Linked DNA regions of Homo sapiens: region 2 is linked to region 1. The links are contacts of gene promoters, found by promoter capture Hi-C in blood cells and fetal thymus (Javierre and others, 2016). All regions are on one chromosome and are shown on one strand. Each heading gives the region's core, a stretch centred on a gene start or on the middle of the fragment in contact. The rest is flanking DNA. Distances are from core to core; before and after follow the strand shown. Region 1 holds the start of TAGAP (T cell activation RhoGTPase activating protein). Region 2 overlaps EZR (ezrin).

Region 1 (7,638 bases), core at 2,754-5,253:
CACTCAAGTCCACCTAAGGCGAGGCCTCCTTCCTCACCACAGAGCTAGAGAGTCCATGTGTCTAATCCCACAACATTGGTATCGACATAAGCCCGCGGTGTGTGCAAGGAGAGGCTGTCTCCAGCTCAATCAAATTCTGCAACGATGGTCTCTGTTACAGCGTGACAAAGAGGTAGTCTTTCTCCATGAAACGAAACAGTCAAAGGCTAAGTGACAAAAAGTCTGAGTAACAAATTGCAATACCAGCAAACGTATGGTGAGATTTAAATGTTTTATTTTATCACTCAATTTTACTAGTAATTAAAGTATAGCAAATGCCTACTGTGTGCAAAATATGAGGCCAGGCACTTGTAAGAATAAAAGATGAAAAAAGTAGACTCACAGTCTACTGGGTGCGGCCACTATGCAGGGCCAGGGAAGGAAATTTAATTCAATCTAGAAAAGTCCCTTCTTAGAGGAGATAGGACTTGGGCTAGATTCCGAGGGAAGGGCAGAATTCCAAAAGGCAGATGGCGTGAATGGCATTTCAGGAGGAGGGAACAATTTATCAAAGGCCTGGAGACTCAGAAGCACACTTTTAGGGGATGACAACAGCCTGTGTGGCTAAAACATAGGACAAGTGGGAGATGGGGAGGACGGATAATCAGAGAAAAGGCTGGATTGCCCTTTTTTAAAAAAAAGAAATTGTAATTTGAGTTTTCTAGAAAATCAACCTGTTAATCAGTCATTAGGTAGCCAGACACTGGGGTGATGGAGAAGTCCTGAAGGAAATCGTGAACTCTTTGGGAAAATAATCTTCAATGCAGGAAACTGTTGACATTAATCTCATTACAGAATGCAGGGCTCTGAATCACTGGGTGGTCCCAGGAAGAGAAAGGGAAAGTGAGTTCAAACTGAAGAGCCGGACTCTAATCCTCCAGTTGGTGTTTCCCAGGCAAGCTGGGTAAACAATGTGGGGAAAATGACTTCCATATTCTCGTTCACAACAGTCCAGACTGAAGCGGTAACTGAGCCTGAAAGTATGGGAAGGAACGATGGTGCTTCCAGTCACCCTCCAAAGCACACATGTACACAGCATAGAACTCACAGTCCCCAGAACGGAACTCACTGTCCTTAGAGACTCACCACAAGAAAAGCAAAGCCAATTATTTGCAGAAAAATTGATTGTGACCAGGACCCAAGCGATAAAAGTCCCACTGTGAGAAGCATCTTTACAGGTGTGGGTTTCACCGGGGTTTCCTTCAGCCCAACCCAGCAAAAGCCACTGAAGTTCCTTTCCACGTTCTGAAGACTCTTACTATGCAGGACGATGAGAGCTTGCTTTTCAAAGAGATGTGTGGGAGACAAGAATATGGAAAAAGTGAATCTGACATTTCCATCTTTTTTTCTAACTTTTGGCATGACTGCTTCCAAATTTTACACTTTATTTATAAATGTTTCTCCTAGTGCTCGGAAAACTGCGATCAAAATTACTGTGAGATTTTCAGAGTTGAGGGTGCAGCACCTGCCCTTCACAACTCTTTCTCTTTCCACAGTAGGCGCCATATGCAGGCGGGGCCACAGTCATAAAGGAGAACGTCTCCTCAGTCCCCCAGCAGCACCAGCCAACAATGGTGGCTTTCCTTCAGTCACAAAATGTACCTATTCATTAGATGTTGACTGTCAAAATCTCCCAGGGACCCCAAAGGATGGCACCTCCCTCTGGGCTTTCCCACCATCAGTTGTGTCAATAAGAAGAGCCAAAACATATTTCTGTTTCAAAAAATGGAGGGGCCCTAATTCTGTTGCCGTATTTGCTACTAACTTTTCATCCTAGATAGTTCCCTGGGTGCTTAACTAGGCATGGTAGGTCCCAGAAGAAAAAGAAAAGTCCGTCGATGTAACCATTTCTGCAGGTCATCAAACCATTCATGTTATGTATTTTTAAAAGATGCTGAGGCTGGGCACAGTGGCTCACATCTGTAATCCCAGCACTTTGGGAGGCCAAGATGGGTGGATCACCTGAGGTCAGGATTTCCAGACCAGCCTGGCCAACATGGCGAAACCCCATCTCTACTAAAAATACAAAAATTAGCCAGGTATGGTGGCGCGTGCCTGTAATTCCAACTACTCAGGAGGTTGAGACAGGAGAATCACTTGAACCCAGGAGGCAGAGGTTGCAGTGAGCCGAGATCACGCCATTGCACTCCAGCCTGGGTGACAAGAGCGAAACTCCATCTCAAAAAAAAAAAAAAAGAAAGAACAGTAAGTACATTAAGTTTCTTACAAAAATTTGAAAAGTCCGTTTGTCGGGAAAAAAAAAAGTTTAGAAAATACATACTAGCAATGAATATACATCACATATATATTCTATGATATATAGAACATTATAGTAATATTCTATTTTGGCTATTTTATAAGGAAATGTATATATTCAGAAATTAGTTATTTAGTACCTACTATATGCCTAGCACTAGGCTGGGCACAGCGTAAATGCCCTTTTTCAATTAAAAAAATCAGTGAGTTCACTTTGGAGGTTTATAAAGGCAGGAGAGGGATGCTGAAAGAGTGGTGGCCTCTACAGCTGCCCTGGGAACACTGGGTGAACTCTGGCACTGTGGTGGCTTTCAGAGAGGGAGCCCCCAGCTGGAAGCCTGAAAACCAGGATCTGTCCCTAGGTCCCCACCGAGCCGCTAAGTTACAGAGCAAATTTCGACCTCTCTGTGCTTCGGTTTCCCAAAGTCTGCCCCATAATCACCTCCTTTCAGTAAAATGACAAAAGAACTGACAATGCGGAAAAGTCTTAAAATTAAAGATGCTGATGATAAATGAAGCCAAGTTATTTTAAAACTTTTTATTGAAAAATTACATAAATAGGGAAGTGTGCACATAAGCCTAGCACCACCCAGATCAAGAATGGACCATCACCAAGCCCCCCGCTGGCCCCTGGAAGTCATTACCATCCCCTCTGGGAAACTGCTACTCTTGCTTCCAACAGCACAGACGACTTTTGCTAATTTTGTGCTTTGCATTAATGGGAGCCGGCAGGATATACACTTTCACGTCTGGCTTCTTTTGCTCAGCGTCATATTATGAGATCCAACCATATTGTTGGCTATAGTCATAGGCTGTTCATTATCAGTGCTATACAACATTCATTCCCTATGTGAATGGATCACAATTTATGCATCCATTCTCGTGTCGAGGCATTTGAGTGGTTTCATATATAGCCCTTGATCTACAGAAAAGATCAGAAATTCTCTTATGCAGAAGAGTGATCCACAAATGAAATTCACCATCTCTTTCCTACTTTAAGTTGGTCTGATCAAAGGAATTTTTTTGTTTGTTTTCCTTCCGTGTCAGAACGACAGCTGCTCTGACTGTAAATTAAGTATCAATACTTTTGACCAGGAGTTACAGAAAGGAGGAGGGGGTTACTATATTGACAACTGACTCGAGGGAGTTTTCTTTCTACTTCCAAAGGAAACTAACCTGGCTTTGGACGGTGATTGTTCCTCAAGGAAGGGACTGTCTTGGGTTTCTTTCTGGTTCTGTAACAGTGTCCCACATCCAGGGGTGCTAATCAACGTGTGGTGCTGGTGGACAGAGCAGATGGCACGTGGGAGGGGAAAGAGCACCCAAACAGGATGCAAAAAGAGGCACTTGAAATTACCACTTTAGAAAATAAAGTGATGTTTATGCACAGAATAACACAATTTCTTGTTCACACATCCCACCTATGACATTAATCAGAGCCTTCACCTATGGGCTGAATGTCATGTTTTCCACTCCTAGTAGTTTACAGATTTTTTACTTTGAAGTGGAAGACACAAAAAAAAAAAAAAAAAAAAAAAAAAAAAAAGACATAGCTGCCCTAAAAGGAATGAGGAAGCGAGAGCTCTCCAGTGTCTGGCTGGCTCCGTCCGTGTGACAGCCCATGATGTTCTTTCCGGTCTCTGTAATATTCTGAATTTCCACCTGCCCGCCCCTTCGCTTATAATGCAGAGCATGTGAAGGGAGACCGGCTCGGTCTCTCTCTCTCCCAGTGGACTAGAAGGAGCAGAGAGTTATGCTGTTTCTCCCATTCTTTACAGCTCACCGGATGTAAAAGAACTCTGGCTAGAGACCCTCCAAGGGTAAGTACACTATATATTAACATGCCTAGAAATTACAAGCTGCCTCGCAAGTCACAGGTCACTCAGATCACAGGCAACAGAAAACAGCTATCCCGTGGAATATGCTCTCACTTTATAAAGTCTCAGGACAAAGCTTTGCTTCAACGTGAAGGCTGCACCTTTTTGGTGTAGGAGTTCTGTAAATGTTATCTTTGTTTCATGTTTACTATTTTAGCATCCTAGGGATATGTTTTTTTTTTTTTCCTTTTTGGATTAGATGAGAAAATCCATGCAAAGCACCTACTACGACAGCTGGCATATAGTCAGCACTCCACCAAAAAAGTTAATGTTCATGTTAATTTAAAATGTTAACGTAATTGATATCCAGATTATCTCTTGATGGAACGGAATAAATTGGTAACAACGTTTAGAGTGGTAAAGATAGTTGACTTAAATAATTTAGAAATAATTGTGTTCAGATGCTGCTCTTAACAACATACAACATCTGGTAACAGAACTGATTTTAAATGAAAACTTGTCTATGTAATAGTTTTTTCCAAAGTAAAGGCAAGTGAAAAAATAGCAAAAGAGAAAAATAAATAAATAGTTTCAAACTCTGTGCTTTGGCAAAGTGGCGCTGAAAGTGGCCTACTGTGTGAGTCCCTCCTAACTCCTTTCCATGTGATTCGTTGTAGACAGAGGCACAGCCACACGGGAGTGAAATCCACCCCTGGACAGTCAGCCGCAATACTGATGAAGCTGAGAAGCAGCCACAATGCTGTGAGTGCCCCTCTCACATTCATTCATTCACGTTTCCTACAGGCAAGGGCCAAAAGATATTTACCTAATTTTATTTTTTCTCTTTTAGTCAAAAACACTAAACGCCAATAATATGGAGACACTAATCGAATGTCAATCAGAGGTAAGAAAGCAATTTTTAAGACTTTTTATCTGTACTGTGAGAAGGTGGAAAACTTTGTTTTAATTGAATATTATTTGGGTTGAATAGTAATTATAAGAGTAGTAAACTAACATCACACATGTAGTAAATTAAGCACATTAATTAGGATCTTATATGATGACAATCAAGACCTTAATATTGCTTCTAGAAGCTAGAAAAAACATCAATGCACTCTACTGACTTCATTTTTAATATGAATAAAATGCTGTATGTGTGTTTTGTGGGGAAAGACTCGATAGGTTTCTTCAGTCACTATATTTAACTGAAATAAAAATGTTTTTAGGGTGATATCAAGGAACATCCCCTGTTGGCATCATGTGAGAGTGAAGACAGTATTTGCCAGCTCATTGGTGAGTTTTAAAAACATACCGATCTTTTATGTAAGTGCTAACAACCAGTGCTCTTGGTTTGCAAAACCACAGCGCTTTTACTCTACTAGGAATTTTTTTGTATAAGTTGTTCTGTTAAAGACCGCAGAACATTAACCCTTAAATGGCAGGTATGCTCCAACTCACTAGAGCAGGGAGTGCTGGGAAAGGAAAGAGCCTCTCCATAGAGAATCCCCAGTTCTGCCAAGCGTTTTTAATGCGGTTCAATCTCCTGGCCATGTATGTTTCGACAATTAGCATGCACACATTTGAAAAACACACAGTGTCTTTTCCATTTTCTTCCTTCTCTTATGGAGAATGCATCCAAGAGCCTATGAAGCAACTGTTGCTGATCTCAAATCCCAAAGGACCCACCATTCACTCTCAACTTTTTTCATAATGCATTTCATTATAGCGTAACCCTGACCCAGTTCTCCTGAACCATAAAGACAGGCCACTTCTTTCTCATCATGCTTCCACTTGCCAATCTGAAATGTATAGAAACAGATGCCAATGCATTTAGAAAATATAGCCTTTATAATTAGTAAGAAAGGAGAAGGAAGGAAGGAAGGAAAAGAAAAGAAAGAAGGAAATGTTTGAGATTGCAATATCCATTGCACACACATCTTGTGGATTTCAGAAGGACAGAATATCTTGATAACGTTTTGCTGATAATTCCCAGTTGCCAGATCTAGGTTCAAGGCTTCCCGCAGCGATTCGTATTTGCCTCTGTCCTAAAGCAGCAACCTGGAAAACCCAAGGTGACCAGTCACCTGGAAGGAAAAATGGTGTTAGCTCCCTCTAGTGGCTGTTTAGTGCCTGCGTGGCTGCAAAGGGTTGGAGCCAGCCCTGCTATGTGCCTTCGAAAAGATATTCAGCAAGTCACTTCCTCACCTTTTAAGTTTCGTTTTCTTCGCCAGTTAAAGGAGGAAATCAAAATAATCTATTTCATATCAGAAATTTCCTCTATAGTTATTCAGGCCAGTAGGTTAAGATGGTTGTTTATGATCAGCACAGTTAGGTTTTGCTAATTTTCTGTAGCAAACAGCTGGAAAGAGTGAAAACAGGAAAGGTGGAGGCCTTGAGGAACTCTGGTGTTGCTGTTTAGGGAACTGGTTGCCCTGGTAACAGTGTGGTTGTTTATCGGTTGGTTTTTCTAGATTAAGATTCACGCCCTTTGCTTTCTCAAGTTTTCAAAATTATTTTTCTCACATCGCATACTATTGACCACATTATGCGGCCAACGATACCCATTTTCTTACCTGGATCTTTGCTTCTTAACACTGTAGTCTAATTTTTCTCGTTGCCTTGTTTTCTTGGCTGTAGAAGTTAAGAAGAGAAAGAAGGTGCTGTCCTGGCCCTTTCTCATGAGAAGGCTCTCCCCTGCATCAGATTTTTCTGGGGCTTTGGAGACAGACTTGAAAGCATCGCTATTTGATCAGCCCTTGTCAATTATCTGCGGTGACAGTGACACACTCCCCAGACCCATCCAGGTAGGCGTGCATTCTCTCATAAACCTACTTCAGTTTTCAGTTGGACATGCAAAATACTCGGGAAATCTGAATGTCATTCTCCTATTAAGTTTGTAGGGACTGATCTTCCATATTTTCCACTCTTCAACATGGCACTCCCACATACGCGTGCAGTCAGAAGAATATCTGACTGCTTCCATTCCAGAAATTGAAATTAGTTGTATTTGCCAATGAGCTCAGAGCTATGGTCCCGCCATTCCTCTGACTTCACAGAGTGGAGAATGCTGAAGATTTGTAGCTTCTGAAAAGTCAAAAGGGGGAAACAGAATATAGACTTTGTGATCTGAAATCCAATGTTCATATGGAAGTATTTGAAAGGAGAGAGCTCCAAAGTGATTTTAGAAAGTGCAAAATTAGAGCTTTCACAATTTGCCTCCTCTTAGAAAAATAGCAGGGTTGAGGAAGGCCATTGACAGCAACTGGACTGAAAGCAAAATCTGACATCAATATTCCTGTTAAGACTATCTCAGTATACTAAAGAAGAAGGGTAACCCTTTCCTGTTCCTATTGCTGTTTCCTTTAGGACATTCTCACTATTCTATGCCTTAAAGGCCCTTCAACGGAAGGGATATTCAGGAGAGCAGCCAACGAGAAAGCCCGTAAGGAGCTGAAGGAGGAGCTCAACTCTGGGGATGCGGTGGATCTGGAGAGGCTCCCCGTGCACCTCCTCGCTGTGGTCTTTA
Region 2 (7,638 bases), core at 3,007-5,506, 240 kb after region 1:
ACCTGCCTCCTAGTGGGTAATCTTGGGCAAGTTTTTTCACCTCCCTCTGCCTCCTCATCTGTAAACAAGATCCTGCGTGCCCGCCTGGGATGCCTGCTAAGATGGCACATGGGAAGCACCTGGCCTTATGCCTGGCCCTGGTCAGTAAGGGCTGTGCGGTTCCACTTGTACCTGATAAAATTCTAATCTGATTAAAAGCTTTACTAGCTCGTGATGGTCATTCTTTTCCTCTAACTTAGCAGCCCGATGAAATAATGTAGTAAGTAAATGTAACCTTGTTGTTTGTCCTTTTGCTGCCACGATGAACACAGCTGTCTTGCTAGACCTCTGTTGACTTCAACAGGGATAGCATCAGGTTTATTGGAAATTTACATATGGGACAGTCCAGTGGTGGTGGGTTGGACAGAACAGCAACTGCTTCCCGAAAGCTTGGAAAAAGCATGCAGTTTACACAGCATTCTTACTTAACATACTCCCCCTAACAGCCTCCACCTGGCAGCCTTAAAGTGCTTGTGGGCTGGGGGTTCAGATGTTCCCCATAGATAAGGAATTGATTTCAGGGTTGGCCACTAGGATTCCTTAGCTCGGAACTCCACACACGCATTCTTCTTAAGTTATTGATGTTAGGTACACCTGTACAACCACCCTGCATAAAGTTCATTCATTCAACAAATAGAGCACCTACTTTGTGCCAGGTTTTCAGGTACTGGGGAGACATTGGTGAACAAAAAGAGGCTTTTAAAGGATTATCACCTGCTTGGTTGACAGTCACATCCAGTGAATGGTGGAACCCATTTCCTGCTAATGTGTATTTGAGCCTGAAATGCACATTGTCCCACCTTTCCTCAATGGCAAAATGCTCTGGAAAGGAGATGCTGGTCTGACTAAATAAAATGGGCTTTCTGTTTGGAGTTGTAAAGGGAGCCGTGCCTTCCTCAGCCCCTCCTGAAAGAAAGACCTGCTTTCAAGAAGCTTATATTGCAGGGGGAAAGACACATGTCTAATACATCGTCAGGGGGTGGTGAGCGTGCTACTGTAAATTTTCACCTAGGCTTTGGCAAGAGCTAGAATTAACTTTCATTCTTTACTGACTCTTTGAAGCGTTAAAACCACTGGGCAGAGTGACTTAGGAGTGGGCCCACTGTGATGTGTTTTTGTTGGTTTTCTGGTAAATCACTTTTGGGTTGGACAGTGAACCATGATGGTCTTTCTTCAAGAACTTGTTTTTGCAAGGGTTTGGTGATAAGTCCATCATTTCCAAACCCACTTACTCTTCCATCCTTTCTCAGGTGCTGTGGTTCAGGGAAATGATTGTTTTGATAGTATTTTACCTATTGCACCATTACTTCATCTGTAAATTTCTTATAAAATATGTCTTGGGATCCAGCCTTGTCTTTTTTGTTTGTTTTTTTTTTTTTTTTTTGAGACGGAGTCTCTGTCTGTCGCCCAGGCTGGAGTGCAGTGGTGTGATCTGGACTCACCGCAAGCTCCACCTCCCGGGTTCACGCCATTCTCCTGCCTCAGCCTCCCGAGTAGCTGGGACTACAGGCGCCAGCCATCACACTCGGCTAATTTTTTTTGTATTTTTTAGTAGAGACGGGGTTTCACCATGTTAGCCAGGACAGTCTTGATCTCCTGACCTCATGATCCGCCCGCCTCAGCCTCCCAAAGTGCTGGGATTACAGGCGTGAGCCACTGCGCCTGGCCTGTTATGTTTTTAAAGAGAAAATTGAACCACAGGTCACTTGGTTAAAGCTTAGCACATAAATATGAGATTGGAATCACTTTATTTGTAAACATATATGTAGTGTATATTGGTACAGTATTTTCATTAAGGTGTGTTTCATTGCCTCAGTTAAATAATTAAGGGTGTTGGCTGCTGGGATGTTGAAGTATTTGCTTACATAATCCATTGCTGTTTGGGTGAGACTCTTAAATGGATTTAGACAGATAATGGTGAGAAAACTGGATTTTTTATTTAGAACGTGGCTGAACAAGGCAATGTGGAAATAGTGTGATAACAAGGTGCATTATATAACTTGAACAAATCAACTGCAAAAAGACATTTTCAAAGAAATGGAGGAAAATTGAATAATATTTACTGAACTTGACGTATTAAGGAATTGTTTTAAATTATGTTGGATGTGATAATGGTATTGTGATTTTTTTTTTTAGTGCTTTAGAGCAATATACTGAAGTTTTTACAAGTGAAATAATGAATGAGGGCCTTAAAATATGCCAGCAAAAAAAAAAAAAAGTGAAAGTGGTAGAGTAGAAGAAAGAATGGTGTTGAAGCTGAAAAGAGAGTGTGGAGGATCATGGTACTACTTATTCTCTCTACTTTTATGAATGTTTTCAACTTTCCATAATAGAATATTTGCTTTTAAAAAGCATGTTATAGGGTAGAAAGGGAGAGATGCTTTACTTTTGCTCGTCATGAAGTGCCTGAGTGTTGAGGTGGGAGGATCTCAGGGCGAGGGCAGGTCCCCCATTCCCTGCTGCTGGGGCAACCTTTGTGCTCTGGATCAAATGAGTAACTGATTTGATCTCATCAAATGGCCCCACCCGGGCCATCTCACCCTCCATGCACATGTTTTAAAAGGAGGTCACTACTCAAAATTGCAGCTGACTTGGAAACACATAGAACGATTTGTTCCCAGTTTTTTCCACTATTACTTTGTATTCCCAATGTTTTGGGGGGCCCATAGGAATGGGGCACAGTGCTGTGACCCAACTGGGAACAGGTCATTGTCTTAATAGCGATTTTCTCAGACTTGAAAATTGAAATGAACAAAATAAGGGGCATCTACTGGGTAGGGCTTTAGCCATTTTAAGAGATCAATCTACATACTGGGGCTGTGGGCAGGGATGGGGGAAGGAAATACAGCAAACCATGGGTTGGGGTTGGGGTGAGTGATAGGGTTGTAAAATGTACACCATGTCTTTTCCAGTCAAGTAATGATGTACAAATTATAATGCCATTTCAGATGTAACATACTTGATACTGACAGTATAAATTGAAGAGTTTTTTTAATTTTAATTTAGTATAATTTCAGAAATGGTGATTTTAAAAGTTTTGGCAGGGTTTGCTTATTTAAGCAAATTTTGTAAGATTACTGATTTAGTTTGGATTTTTTAAAAGAAGCTACTTTGGTCTTGCTAATTTTTGACACATGGCAAAAGTAAAGACTGGGGTGAGTTCAAATCTTGTCTAATCGAAGTTTCTTACAGGAGAAATGTTCTTTAACATTGTATAATATTGCTCATGTGATCTTAACTAGGGGCAAAAATTTATCTCAGCAATGGCACAAGACTTAAGTATGGTTTATGTCTTATGTCCTCTAAAAAACAGGTTAGCAAAGAAATTTTTCGACCTTTTTTTTTTTTTTTTTTTTTTTTTCCTGAGATGGAGTCTCTGTCACCAGGCTGGGAGTGCAGTGGCGCCATGTAGGCTCACTGCAGCCTCCGACTCCCTGGTTCAAGCGATTCTCCTGCCTCAGCCCCACGAGTAGCTGGGATTGCAGGCACACGCCACCATGCCCGGCTAATTTTTGTATTTTTAGTAGAGATGGTTTCACCATGTTGGCCAGGATGGTCTTGGTCGCCTGACCTCGTGATCCACCCACCTCAGCCTCATTGTTTCCTAGACTCACCTTCTCACTCCCAAGATCAGAAATTGGAAATCATCATTCTCAGTAAACTATCGCAAGAACAAAAAACCAAACACCGCATATTCTCACTCATAGGTGGGAATTGAACAATGAGATCACATGGACACAGGAAGGGGAATATCACACTCTGGGGACTGTTGTGGGGTGGGGGGAGGGGGGAGGGATAGCATCGGGAGATATACCTAATGCTAGATGACGAGTTAGTGGGTGCAGCGCACCAGCATGGCACATGTATACATATGTAACTAACCTGCACAATGTGCACATGTACCCTAAAACTTAAAGTATAATAAAAAAAAATAAGAAAAAAAGAAAGGAAAAACTCTTCACAGGCTTCTAAATTTGCAGAGACAACCATGCATTCCAGGTGAATAGTGATGTTTAATCTATAGGCCTTTAGTTCCCTATCTTTTCTGAGCCTACAATTAAAACCGACTCTAGCATATAATAAGCCATCTTGGCCTTGTCCCTTACTTTTGTTTATGTGTGTAGTTACTAAGTTTACTAAGTAGTTACTAAACTTAAGTTTCTGTGTATAATTACCTGCACATTTCAGTGAAGCATGTTGGTGATGAAGTATTTATGATATACCTAGTGAAACTGAAATCACATGGTATACAATCAAGACTTAGACTTCAGGAGTTTATTAGATAAATTCTTGTTCAAGGTCCCTTTCTCTTTATTTTGCCTGCCCTGAGGTAAGGAGATGAGAAGGATGTAGATTGTGTTTCTAGAAAGAATAGTTTCTTTTGCTGAATGTAACATCCTTTGATTATTTCTTTTCCCTTTCTTAGGGGAAAGTGGTGTCTAAGAATTCCAGTTTACTTCCCTGTTAGATAACACACAATGTATGTTATTTCCAGTGTAGAAGAAGTTGGTTCTTAATTAGAGACACTCACCAAAAAGGGCCTTAAAAACTAGCAGCTAATAGGTATCAGGAGCATTATTTTCATACGCCATCAGCAGGTCGGAAATGGCCATCAGTGTTACTCGGCAGTGCAGGCTTGGAACTCGGGCATGACTAGCAGTCATTTCATTGTCAGACCTATGGAAAGCAGCTCCTTTCTGCCTCCCAGATGCAGTGGACAGTAGGGAGGGCTTAGCACAGAACTCTTCCCAACCTGGTTTTAAAATGACCCTCTTTTGAATGTGAATGCCCAGAAAGTTCCCTTCTAGTTCTAAGGTCATGATTTTCTTGCTGATAATAATGAGCACAGATGGGACTGGTTTGTCCGCTTTTTGTGTTTGTTAAGCAGCCTTGGTCTGACAGGATGTGGGTCTAGGGGCAGGAAGTGGCTTACTCTCAGAGGAAAAAGGAGAGCTATTTAGGATTTGAGATTTCATTACATGTTCTTGAAATTATGGGGTGGCTATTATTCTGGACTCTCTCTGTATATTTTATATATATATATGTATATATATATATATATGTATGTATATGTATATATATATATATATATGTATATATATATATATATATATATGTATATATATATATATATATATATATATATATATATACATATATATATATATATAATGTTACATAATATTTACCCTGGAGTTGGTAAATACAAACTTTTCAAAAGCATAAAACCATTGGCATCTATTTAAAGATACTATTTTAGGAGTAATGTTAAAGAGCCAGAGCTACACAGATATTTTGGTAGCTGATTACCAGAAGTTGAGGGTCTCAGTTTTTGTAACCATTAAAAAAAGGTCATCAGACGAGGATAACCGTATACCTCGTATCGAGTACTCATTTGGAGTCACTCTACCAGTTATACTTCATCACTATTCTGATTGGCTACTTAAAACATACGTTTATATAACATAAAAATGTAACATCATGTAGATACGTGAAAAGTCAGTTACTAGGAAATTCCCAGCCCCCACTTCTGTGTCAATACTCTGCCCTGTTAACGTCTGCTGCACATTAAGAATTTAGCCTTGACATTTTAAGTTTAGCCTAATGGTGGTGCTGGAGGAAGTAGTAAGGAGAACAGTTTAGAAAAGGAGGTGTGAGTGGCATGTAGTGTTACTTTTCATCATTTAAATTACTCAAAAAGTTCCTTAAAGTGCTTCTGGCTTCTCTGGGAAATGAGTTCCTGCTTCCCTGTGGTGTCAGGAGAATCGCAGGGTAGGAGACACGGCCCCTAGGATACTGGACATGGGCTGGATGCTGTATTCGAGGGATAAACCATGTATGGTTCTTGTGCTTAAATAAGCAAAAACCTGGCCGGGCGCGGTGGCTCACACCTGTAATCCCAGCACTTTGGGAGGCCAAGGCGGGTGGATTACGAGGTCAGGAGATCGAGACCATCTAACTTAACATGGTGAAACCCCGTTTCTACTAAAAATACAAAAATTAGCTGGGCGTGGTGGCACATGCCTATAATCCCGGCTACTCGGGAGGCTGAGGCAGGAGAATCGCTTGAACCCGGGAGGTGGAGGTTGCAGTGAGCCGAGATTGCGCCACTGCACTCCAGCCTGGGCAACAAGAGTGAAACTCCGCCTCAAAAAACAAACAAAACACTACCACCAAAAACCTAACTAGCCATAGTCAAGTAGAAGTATACAAATATTCCAGAAGAACTAAACTATAAGGTGTTTGTAAATATTTAGATGTGAATGAGTATAAACAACGCATCAAAAAATCATAAAAATTGATATTTGGTAAATTTTCCTTTCTGCCAGACTTGCTGGCAGTTAAAATTTGAAACAGTGACTGTACCGAAAGCCTTTTTATTCAGGTTAAAAGTTGTACTCCCATTTCCTAAAATAAGGACTGAACTGAGAAACTCTAGCTACAGCTACTTGGTTTTCCATAGAGTTAAGTTGGCTCCTTAGATGCTGAAGTCTGTAGTTATGACCTTGCTTTCATTAGTAATTAGCACCTGGGCAGGTACTAACCAATGAATGCCCTTTACACCTGGCAAGAAGGAATGGGTGGGGAGGCCAGATTGTTTCAATCTAAAGGGCACTACGTTGTGGTGGGTTACGTTTTTTGGTAGACAGACACTGCCTACAGGCAACTAAGTCATTCCATTAACTGTCATTATCAATCCATGTGTGGCCAAGCTTGAATTGTCCTGCTGGTTTAGCTTCCTGATGGGGAACAACAGCTGTCGCAACGCACAGTGTCTGCAGCTCCATCATGGGCCCCAGGACGTCCCACAGCAGCTAACACTGGTCTGTACTCGGAACTCTGCCACCTGGCCAGTGACTTTTGTGCGTCATGTTCCTGGGAATAGTATGACTGTCCATGATTCCTAGGAAAGCTAGAGGAATAACTGAGGATGAGGAGCTAGCACTTTGACCCCTGTGGGGAGTGCTGGTTATAGTGGTTATCAGGGTTGTGACAAGTGGACTCTTGTGAGTTCCAACACTGGATGATTTTATTATTCCTATTACTCAGGCAGTAAAAGACTAGTACATATCCTGGTGTTATATAATTATATGAAAACTTATCAGAATGAGTTTTATAACTAGCGTACCCATGTTTTTGTTATTGTGCTGCAGATAAAATGGCGCACTGAAATGTTACTGAATTATGTGACAATTTTTGTTACAATTCTGTGCACTTTTTACAAGATTTGTGGAGCTTAGATAGATGGCTGGCCTTTGGCATCTGAACATTTTCCTGAGCCCGATAGACAAGCAGATTTTTTTTGTTTGTTTTTGGAGACAGGGTTCTCATGCCTGTAATCCCAGCACCCTGCCTAGTTCAAGACCAGCCTGGCTGGCAACATGGTGAAACCCCGTCTCTACCAAAAATACAAAAGTTAGCTGGGCATGGTGATGCACGCCTGTAATCCCAGATACTCTGGAGACTGAGGCAGGAGAATCGCTTGAACCCGGGAGGTGGAGGCTACAGTGAGCCGAGATTGTGCCACTGCACTCCAGCCTTGACAGAGCGAGACCCTGTCTCAAAAAAAATTAAAAAGACAGGGTTCTGTTACCCAGT

Evidence for each region. The method cuts DNA at HindIII sites, captures the fragments that hold promoters and counts their contacts. A CHiCAGO score of 5 or more calls a contact.
Region 2: a contact is called between a fragment that was not itself captured here and the fragment with the promoter of TAGAP in region 1, in 1 of 17 cell types (naive B cells). The highest score is 5.3, in naive B cells.

Annotation. Positions count from the first base shown.
Region 1 is chr6:159,041,356-159,048,993 of GRCh38, reverse strand. TAGAP (T cell activation RhoGTPase activating protein) reads left to right here and starts at 4,003. Exons shown (of 10, transcript NM_054114.5): 1 at 4,003-4,115; 2 at 4,790-4,874; 3 at 4,963-5,016; 4 at 5,339-5,405; 5 at 6,750-6,916; 6 at 7,479-7,638. The coding sequence starts at 4,848. TAGAP-AS1 (TAGAP antisense RNA 1) reads right to left here. Exons shown (of 5, transcript NR_183546.1): 5 at 5,938-7,196. RefSeq lists enhancers at 6,300-6,569, 7,143-7,638. The HindIII fragment of the contact is 8,846 bases long and covers 1-4,250 here.
Region 2 is chr6:158,801,100-158,808,737 of GRCh38, reverse strand. All of the region lies in intron 2 of EZR (ezrin), which reads left to right. Among named protein-coding and RNA genes, the nearest start is that of EZR-AS1, 13 kb to the left of the region's middle. RefSeq lists an enhancer at 4,831-4,940. The HindIII fragment of the contact is 4,997 bases long and covers 1,758-6,754 here.